2 separate regions of the Homo sapiens genome follow, and region 2 is linked to region 1. Evidence: promoter capture Hi-C in 16 types of primary human blood cells and fetal thymus (Javierre and others, 2016). All regions are on one chromosome and are shown on one strand. Each heading gives the region's core, a stretch centred on a gene start or on the middle of the fragment in contact. The rest is flanking DNA. Distances are from core to core; before and after follow the strand shown.

Region 1 (4,410 bases), core at 642-3,141:
AAAAAAAATTTACCCAAATACTGTTTTCTGGATTTAGGACAGTTTAGATTTTTCTTTGTTCTCAAGGTAATGGTTTTTTCCCTTCCCATATCATAGACCCTCTGAAAGTCGCAGTGTGAATCTTTGCTACCAAACGGTGGACAAGAGGTTTGCTAACTCCATACTTTGTAGGAAAAGGGGGAAGAAAAGGGCACAGACATCCATTATTTAGAGTCTATCGATAAATTAACCTGCTTTATAATATAACGATTCCATTACAGCACATAGTATGCCGGGGGCAGAGTGTATAGAATGTGTGGAGAGTGCACATTTCACCATAACAAGAATCCATCTTTCCAAACACTACCAAAAATTGGCAAATAATTCAAACTGCGCTTAGTTCAAGGCTTAATTGTTGAACCCTAACAATAAAAGTTCAGAAAAATGTAATTAGCAGGTTGCTCTCTGCGCAAAAGTAAACTACAAAGAGGGGACATTTGTCTATCTCTACACGCCCCTCCCCATGCCTGAGGATTTCGCCCTCAAGAGGTGCGTCTAGTGTAAGGGCCAGACCCCGCTGGTGCCCCGGACAACGGGGTAGGAGTGGGGACCGACCGGTCCCGTAGTTGGCCGCGCCTGGGCCTCGCTGGGCGCGCACCCCGCTGGCTCGGTCGCCCGGAGGCGGACAGGACGGAGACGGGACGTATGGACGGGACGGACAGACGCGACAGGACGGACGGGACGGGTAGAGAAGCAGTGCGTCCTACCCGGAGGGCTCCCTCCCAGGGCCGGCGGAGTACCTGCTCCGGTCATCCAGGCTGCGGTTGTCGGCGGCTGCGTTGCGCCAGTCGGGCAACGTGCTGGCGCACAGCACCACCATGGACACGATCACGAACACCACCGACACGCTAGCCAGGATCTGCGCGGCCAGCGACGACGTGGGCTCCTCGAAGGTCCGCCGCATGCGCTCCAGCCAGCGCCTGGAGGGAGCCGCCTCGGCCCCGCCGGGGCGCGCCTCGTCGCGGCCCAGCACGCCCGGCTCGTCGGCCGAGTAGAAGGTGTAGGTGTCGGACATGCGGTCGTCGAGGCGGCGCTGGCAGCAGTACTCGAGGTGCGCGCCCTCCAGGCCCCAGTAGATCATCTCGTTGTAGAAGGAGAGCTCGCACATCCGCGGCGCGAAGCGCAGCTTGCCGTGGCCGCGCACGTAGAGCAGGATGAAGCCGAAGGCCTCCGAGTGCCGGTCGAAGAAGTACTCGTTGCGCTCGCGGTCGTAGTCGTCGCACACCTCGAGCACGTCGCGCTCGGAGCGGCAGCCGTGCAGCCGGCTCACGCGGCGCAGCGGGAAGTCCTTCAGCAGCTCCCGGGACAGCGAATACCGGGCGCCGCCCACGTTCAGCACCACCGAGGCCGCCCCGCTGCGCCCGAAGGTCATGGCTGGCCGCCCGGGGGACTTTCGGCCCGAGGGCCCCGCTGCAGCCCCCCACCCCAAGCCGCCACGCGGGGCCTGCCTGCCCGTGGCTGACGGGGGAGCGCGCCGTCGGGGCCCGCGCTCCCTCGGGGCTCCGCTCCTGCCCTCCGCTGGCCCGGGGGTCCCTGGGCTCGAGTATCTCCGGCGCTGCTAGTAGCGCGCCCTCCGCCCGGCGGTACCTGCGGGTGGCCGGGGAGTCCTCGCCGGCGCCAGCGCTGAGCCCCACCGGCTGGGAACGCGGCTGTGTCCGCGCCGCCGACCCTCGCGCCCGAGGGCTGCGCACACCGAGGCCGCGGTGCCCTCTCCCAAGCCGCGGGGCCGACCCCCTGAGGGCTGCGGGCGCCGAATGGAGCCGCCGGGGCGGAATAGCTCCCCGTCTCCGGCGCTCCCTGCGGCCGCGAATCCGGCGGCCGCCCCGCCGCCGTCCAGAGGCGAGAGGCAAAGTGAGCGGGTTCGGAGGCGGCGAAGAGCCGGCTCGCGGCGGCGGGGGCGGGGCCTCTGTGCAGTCCTCCTCCTCGCCCGCCGGCTCCGCGCGCGCCGCTCACCTCCCTCCGCGCCGCCCTCCGCTTCCCGCCCGCGCCCGCACCTCCCCGGCTTGCTCGGGCTGGGATTCCCGGGCGCCCCGCCCTGGACCTCGGGCTCCCCGCCTCGTGACGCCGTCCTCCCCCTCCGCTCCGGCCCGTAGTGGCGGGGAGGGGTCCGCAGGGCGGGGGAGCGGGGAGCCCAGCGCCGGGATGCCTGCTCCCGCGTCCTGCCCTGGGCCATCGGGATGAATTGGGCAGTCCCCAGGGCCCCTTTTAACAGCCCTGGTTCAAAGCCCAGTGTGGACTCGGGTGCGGGGACAGACGGCGTTTGGAGAGCTTTTTCCAGAAACTGTCCGGAGCCCAGCTCGGGTTCTGACATCGCCCCTAAGGATTTCTCAGGGAAGGCATCCCAGCCACGGCTTTTCCTGCCGACTTTGCTCTTCCTACCGCCGCGCGGGGCGACCCACGTACCGCGTGCTCAGAGGGCGGCTACACGCCCCATCCCCCAGCCTCGGTGCCGCCTGCCAGCCCGCGGAGGGAAGCGGTCCCCGACCCGGCCCCGGCCCCCACGTTCTGGGGCGCGAGTCCTGAGAAGGCGCCTAACGTGTAGCGCGCCTGGACCCTCTCGAGATGCTGCCCTTAGAGTGGGATGAAAGTCTGGGGAGGAACGCCTTGTCACCGGCAAAAACAGCCTTTCTCTTGGTCTTCGTCTGCATCCTCCTTTTCAAAATATCTTGATTTCCCCCGCGCACCCCTGACCCGGCTGCAGCACCGGCCCTCCGAGCGGGAAGAGCCCCGTGAAGGCTCCGCAGAGCGATCTACCCCGCGCTCTTGTCCGTGCCCAGAAAGCGGGTTCCACTTGGCAGGGATTATTTTAAACTGCTACCAGCAATTCATTCACCTGACACCCGACACCGGCAGCCCAGCCCGCCGGAGGCGAGACAGGTGAGTTGTAAGGCGAACCGTGTTAGATGCAAAACAAATACTAGAAGAAAAAAATAAGGGTGGGGTAGGGTGAGATGCGGTCATCTGACCACAGGGTAACCTGGCTGGTTAAAGGGAAGAGTTTTTCATTGCCCTCTACTTTTCGTAATTTTGTAGGATTGTCCGGTGCCCGCTAGAGGTCGCCAAACGGAGTCCTTTTGCGCTGGTTCTTAAGTGGATTCCTAGTGAAAAGGCAGACAACTGAAAATGTGAGTGCTGTCTTTTAAGTAAAATCACTCTCGGTGGCTTCTTAAAGAATGAAAATCTCTGTGAGTTGTTTATCCCCAGACTTGGATAATTTATCTTAAGAGCACTAAATGTGATTAAAAGCTCAAAAACAGGAGTTATTTGCTACTTTAGTATCTACTAAATAGTTTGCTATTCAGTATCTATTTTGCTATTTAGTGTCTACTGGGTAGATACTGCTACTTTGCTGTTTAGTATCTACTAAGTAGATATTAAACAAGAAAAATATCTGTAAGAAAGTGAGTTTCAAGACAGAATTGGAGGTGCTGATGGCCATGAGTTGGCACAGAGAAAGGGCAAAACATTCCTAGTAGCAAAATCTCGAATGTGGAGGTTTAAAGTCTGTGAAGAAGTATAATGCACTTGCCCACTGAAACAATGGGGATCTCAACTGCAGCATTTAAATTGGATCCCATAAGCAATGGAATCCCTGGAGGTTTCCATAGCAGAAATGGCTTGATGAAAGCTTTATTTCAGGAAGATGCCTTTGCACTTTGGGTCATTCTAAGGAGAAGGTCATTTCGCAACCCAGGAATGGGATCCCCAACCCCGTGTCTGTGAAGATGAAGAAGGGTCTGTTCTGAGAAACGCTGAGACCAAGAACTTTGCAGGTCTTGAAGATGGATTTGTTGTAGGACGTGAGGATGGGGAAAAGTTTGCAGATGTGAGCCAGAGATGAGCCTGGCTTGATACCAAGAGCCAATTCATCAGGAAGCCGTTAAAAAATACTTTCTAGAAGCATCACAAGCAATAGAAGACAGAACTATAGTGCCGATTGTTTGCTCTAACATTATTGTAGGGTTTATTTCCTGTGTTCTCTCCGTAGAATCCTTCTACTGTCTGTTGATTGAACCAGTTGAAGAAATATCTCATTTTAAATTACATTTGAGCTTAGAAAACAAATTAATTTGATGACAATACAATGTGTGCCTCCTAGGTATATTTTCATGCGATTTCTTAGAGAGATAGGCTTAAATCATTTCATTTGTTTCAAGAGTAATATTTTTATTTGATTTTAATATCATCAACCACTGCTGCAGCAGCAATACCCAAATCGTTTTCTTAAACAAAGAAAACAGTGATGCAGAAATGATAGGCTTGTCTCAATATAATCTGGTTTAGAGAGCATTCTTAAAGCCAATTCTATTCTTTGTACTTTGAGAAGATAATGTTGAGAAGTATTACATCCAGATTCTCTCCTAGACTCGG
Region 2 (4,849 bases), core at 11-2,510, 620 kb before region 1:
ACACTGCAGAGGCCAAGGCTAGAGCAAGACTGACAAAGGCCTAAGAGAGGGAACTCCACTTGGGCAGCTACTTCTTATCTATTTTATGGAATGAGGTGGCCAAGCTTGAGAATCTTGTGCCCTGAGACTAAAGAAAGCCTGATCACTGTGACCAGCATGAGTTATAGAGAGGTTGGGGCAGGGCAAGCTGGACATCCAACTGCACCCACATCCTCCCACAACCATTCCTCTCCTGCCTCAACATGAGACTGGTGCCTCTGGACAGGAGCAAAGTGAGGCACAAAGTATGTCCCCTACACACAGACAGGCACAGAATAGGCATTCAGTAAACCATAGTTCAGCCAGGCAGGATGGCTCATGCCTGGAATCCCAGCACTTTGGGAGGCCAAGGCAGGCGGACCACCTAAGGTCAGGAGTTCAAGACCAGCCAGGCCAACATGGCGAAACCCCATCTCTACTAAAAATACAAAAATTAGCCGGGTATAGTGGTGGGCACCTGTAATCCCAGCTACTCAGGAGGCTGGGGCAGGGAGAACTGCTTGAACTCGGAAGGTGGGGGTTGCAGTGATCCGAGATCACACCACTGCACTCCAGCCTGGATGACAGAGTGAGACTCCATCTCAAAATAATAATAAAATAATAAACTGTAGTTGTTTCGGCTTGGAGTGAAATGGAAGAAATATGAGGGACAGATAGCACATTTAAAGGGATCTATTGTTCCAGCCCAGATGAGCCCCTGGACATTCCTGTGTGTTATGCTTTACCAGGTGCCTTATCACTGCTTTATCCATCTCTTCCCTACAGGTGGTTTTCTGCAGGGAGGCTCCAAAAGACAGAAGCTGAGTTCTGCCAGAAGAAAAAGGGAATGGAATATGTAAAAGAAAAGGATAAAAGAAAACTGGGGACAGACAGGCAAGGCTAGTAGGGAAGGGGGAGTGGGGTCTCTGGGGAGAAGAGAATCCTCAACCTGGGAAGAAGGGGAGGCTTGAAAGCAGAGGGGAAAGCTATGGAGGTCTGGAGGGCAGAGGAAATCCCAGATGTGGTGGCCAGCAGGGGTCGCTGATGCCCCACCAACAGCCTTAGGGCTGGGGAAGACTCAAAGGGAGGAAGATTTTCAAAAGCTCAAGTGGGCTTCACTCCCTCCCCTACCCTCCACCGTCCCCTCTGCCCCAGACTCTTCCTTATGGCATTGAGGTCTCTCTTCTAGGGTTCTGGAGGTTCCTTTCCCTGTGATCCTTTTCCTGAAAGTGAGCAAGATAGCCTGGCCAGGCAGCCCTGGGGGTGATGGAGGCAGCAGGTGGGGAGAGGCCTCCTGGATTTGCCCTCCAATGCTGCTCCCATGGGCACCCATGGAAATGGGGGTAGGAGGGCACCTCTGACCACAGGCTGCTGATGGGGTTGGCGCAGGCAGAGGAAGGGAGGGAACTGCTCTTCCTGGCTATCCTTGTCAAATAGCAAATTCAGAGCAGAGCCACAGCGAAGCCTGGAGGTAGAGGAATGCCCCCCGGCCAGCAGTGGTTCAGGGCCGTGCTTAGGAGCACCAAACCTGAGCCTGGGCGCTGCATGCTCCGAGGGCCAATCCCAGCACACACTGTTCCCCCACTGTCTGAGGCCCAGCACCTGTTGTCTAGAATCAGCGTCTACTTGCCTCTAGGCAGACACCCTGACCAATTCTCTACCCTCCTTGGCTTCTCCATTTTCAGTTCTGCTCCTCAGACACCAAAAGCTCCTATCACTACAACCTTCCTCATATTACCTTTTCCAAGATTCTGGCTTAGCCAGTATTAGTTACAGTTCAGGTCAATCAATGTCCTTCAAGAAGAGTTTAGGAAGACCTGTGTGTCCCAAGTCCTAATCACATCTCAGAATGGTTCTGCCACAAACTCTGAGATTCTTTCAAAAAGCATGTATTGATCTGCTCTTGCTTTCCTAGGGCCATAAAAGAGGCAGGCTTATGGAACCAAGTATGTTGCGCCTCTGAGCTAATGGTTCCATCTTTGGAGGCCACTCCTCAGGGTAGTTCTTAACTGACAGATGACCCCCGACATTAGAAGAGATGCCAGCAGAGTCCAGACCTGGGGTAGGACCCTGAGCTGTTTATCCCCAACAGTCAGAAGGAAGGCTGCACTGTCCCAGGGGCACCCAGCCTCCAAATGAGCCTCAAGGAAGGGTCTGGAAGGCCAGACAATACTATGGTCAGATTATGGACTTGGGAATTGCTGCAGATGCCATTGGGGGTAAGGAAGATTAGGAAATTCTGGAACTCAGGAGCTGCCCAGGCAGCCAGACTGCCTCTGACACACCCAGTCCTCATTTGGATTTGAGGAAAGGAGACTTGAGCGCAGGAGAAAGGCACCCAGGAGCCTGTGAGTCGTGCCTAAGCCTCTGGATCCCACATCTGAGGAAACAACTTAATGTAAGCTTTGAGTGGTGCTACCACCGTCGCCTCTGAGGTTTAACCGAGGCGCGATTGTTGCTGATTGAAAACATGAGACCTAATTCCAGCCCCCTCCTCCCTCCAGTGGCAGGCGGAGGCTCCACATCCATTTCCTGCCTTGGTCAGAACTGGCTCCGGAATGGGACAGGGCTGCCTGTGGCTCCAGCTGGGGGAGGCTGAGGTGAATAAAGACAGTGATGGAGAGGGATCCAAGGGAAACCAAGGATGGATGTGAAGAGCTGATGCCACCTGCCACCCATCCAGGTGGAGTCCTCCCAGACTCCAGGCTCATGCCAAGGGAGGGTGTAGGTGGTTGCTAGTGTAAGCTAATCCTGTGTCTGTGATGCCGAAAAAACTATATAAATGCCCATCACCTCTCTGGGGACAGCCCTGCTCCCCAGCCATTCCCTATAAGAAGCTGCCCTTATACAACCACTTTCCCCCAGTCTTGGAGATGGTCAGCTCTGCAGAGCTCACAGAGAAATCAAAGATATATAGGGTGTTATTAGACGGATCCTAGCAAAGGGCAGGTTTAACCAATGCCCTCACATTTTATAACTGAAATTCAGAGCGGTTAAGCAACCTCACAGAACAAGATCTAGTCTGCAACTCTTTGCTTCTTATTTTTTGGGAAAGGGTCTCACTCTGTCATTCAGGCCAGAGTGCAGTAATGCAATGATAGCTCACTGTAACCTCTAACTCCTGTGCTCAAGTGATCCTCCCACCTCAGCCTCCCAAGTAGCTGGGACTACAGGTACATGTCTAGCTAATTTTTTTTTTTTTTAAGAGACATAGTCTCACTATGTTGCCCGGGCTGGTATTGAACTCCTGGCCTGGTCCCCAAGGGATCTTCTCGCCTTGGCCTCCCAAACTACTGGGAATATACACTTGAGCCACCGCACCCAGCCTAGTTTGCAACTCTTGACTCCTGATTCCTGAGTGCTCCTTCTCTGACACCAGAATTTTCCAGAAGGTCTCCGAAAGAGGTCAAGAAATAAGCAGCTCTGATCAAACTATTAAAAAATCAGCTTCAGGCCAGGCACAGTGGCTCATGCCTTTAATCCCAGCACTTTGGAAGGCCGAGGCAGGCAGATCTCTTCAGCTCAGGAGTTCAAGACCAGCCTGGCCAATGTGGTGAAACTCTGTCTCTATTAGAAATACAAAAACTAGCTGGGTATGGTGGCACATGCCTGTAATCCCAGCATGCGCCACCACACCCGGAGTTCTGAGAATTGCTTGAACCCAGGAGGCGGAGGTTGTAGTGAGCTGAGATCATGCCCCTGCACTCCAGCCTGGGCAACACAGCAAGACTCTGTATTTTTTGTTTTAATAAGCTTCAAAATTGTAATAAGTGAGTAGTCAATGTGGCTGTTTGCAGATAAACACACCAACATGTCATTTCATTTAGCATGATCCTGAGGGCCATGCCTCATGGAAAGCCATCCTCACACTTTTCTGTTTCCCCCTCAGTCTACTCCCCTGAGAAATGAAACCACATCCTGGCCTCAGAGGAATGCCTTGAGGTTGCCATGGTAAGACATATGTGCGGTAGTGTCTCACCAATCCTGAAATCACCTCTCCAGCTGACAGTCAAGGACAGGGAAGTGGAAAAGACCCCCAGACAGCCACTGTAGACCTCACAATGTCCGGGTTCCAAAGTTCATGCCAAGCAGTCACAGAAAGGCCTTTCAGACTCATTTGGATTCTTTTCATTCTTGCTTCACAAACAGCTCTAACAGACTTACCCTTCCGAATTTTTGTTGTTGTTATTATTACTTCTTTTGTTTAGTCCCTGGAATATTGGAAGCAGGCAACAAATTAGAAGAAAGATACTGAACTGCTAGTGAGAGGCATACTGGGAATCAAAAAAGTGAGGTTAGCTGAAAGACACAAGATAGCAACAAAAGCACAAATAGGAATCCCAAAAGCATAGAAAGCTGGAGTCATTTTAGTATAGAGATAAATAGCCATGTACATTTCAGTAGACCTGAAGGTATCACAGTGTTCCTGAGTCATCAAAAATAATTTCTATAAAAGGAGTCTTTCCATCCATCTTTCATCCCAAGAATAATAGCACAGCCTCATCCAGTTCATAGGATTTTCACTCCTATAAGTCAAGTAAGTTGTTCTCAATATCAAGAATGAGATTCTCCCTAGGGAATCTAGCCTGTGTTGACTCTTTCTCTTCACATGCACTGCACACATTCAGAGGCAACAGACAGAAGCTCTCTGCATTCCCACCCCCGTTAGCAGAGAAGAATATGACCGTAAATTAGCATAAAGATTCTTCAGAGACAAGGCACAGAAACAATGTATGCAGAATATTGGGGGAATGTCCAAAACACTTGAGCACGAACTGTTTCCAAGCTCCCATAAGCAGTTGAGCTGCTTCTATGTATCTACAAATAACCA

What was found. The method cuts DNA at HindIII sites, captures the fragments that hold promoters and counts their contacts. A CHiCAGO score of 5 or more calls a contact.
Region 2: a fragment that was not itself captured here is called in contact with the fragment with the promoter of KCNG3 in region 1 in 2 of 17 cell types (naive CD4 T cells and activated CD4 T cells); the score reaches 7.3 in naive CD4 T cells.

The regions. Positions count from the first base shown.
Region 1 is chr2:42,492,091-42,496,500 of GRCh38, forward strand. KCNG3 (potassium voltage-gated channel modifier subfamily G member 3) reads right to left here and starts at 1,892. Exons shown (of 2, transcript NM_133329.6): 1 at 747-1,892. The coding sequence starts at 1,411. It also overlaps a transcript of MTA3 not described here. RefSeq lists enhancers at 79-836, 837-1,594, 2,919-3,213 and silencers at 1,675-1,764, 1,945-1,994, 2,085-2,164. The HindIII fragment of the contact is 17,203 bases long and covers 1-3,665 here.
Region 2 is chr2:41,868,852-41,873,700 of GRCh38, forward strand. It overlaps the pseudogene RNU4-63P. Among named protein-coding and RNA genes, the nearest start is that of LINC01913, 6.3 kb to the right of the region's middle. RefSeq lists a silencer at 967-1,066. The HindIII fragment of the contact is 2,317 bases long and covers 103-2,419 here.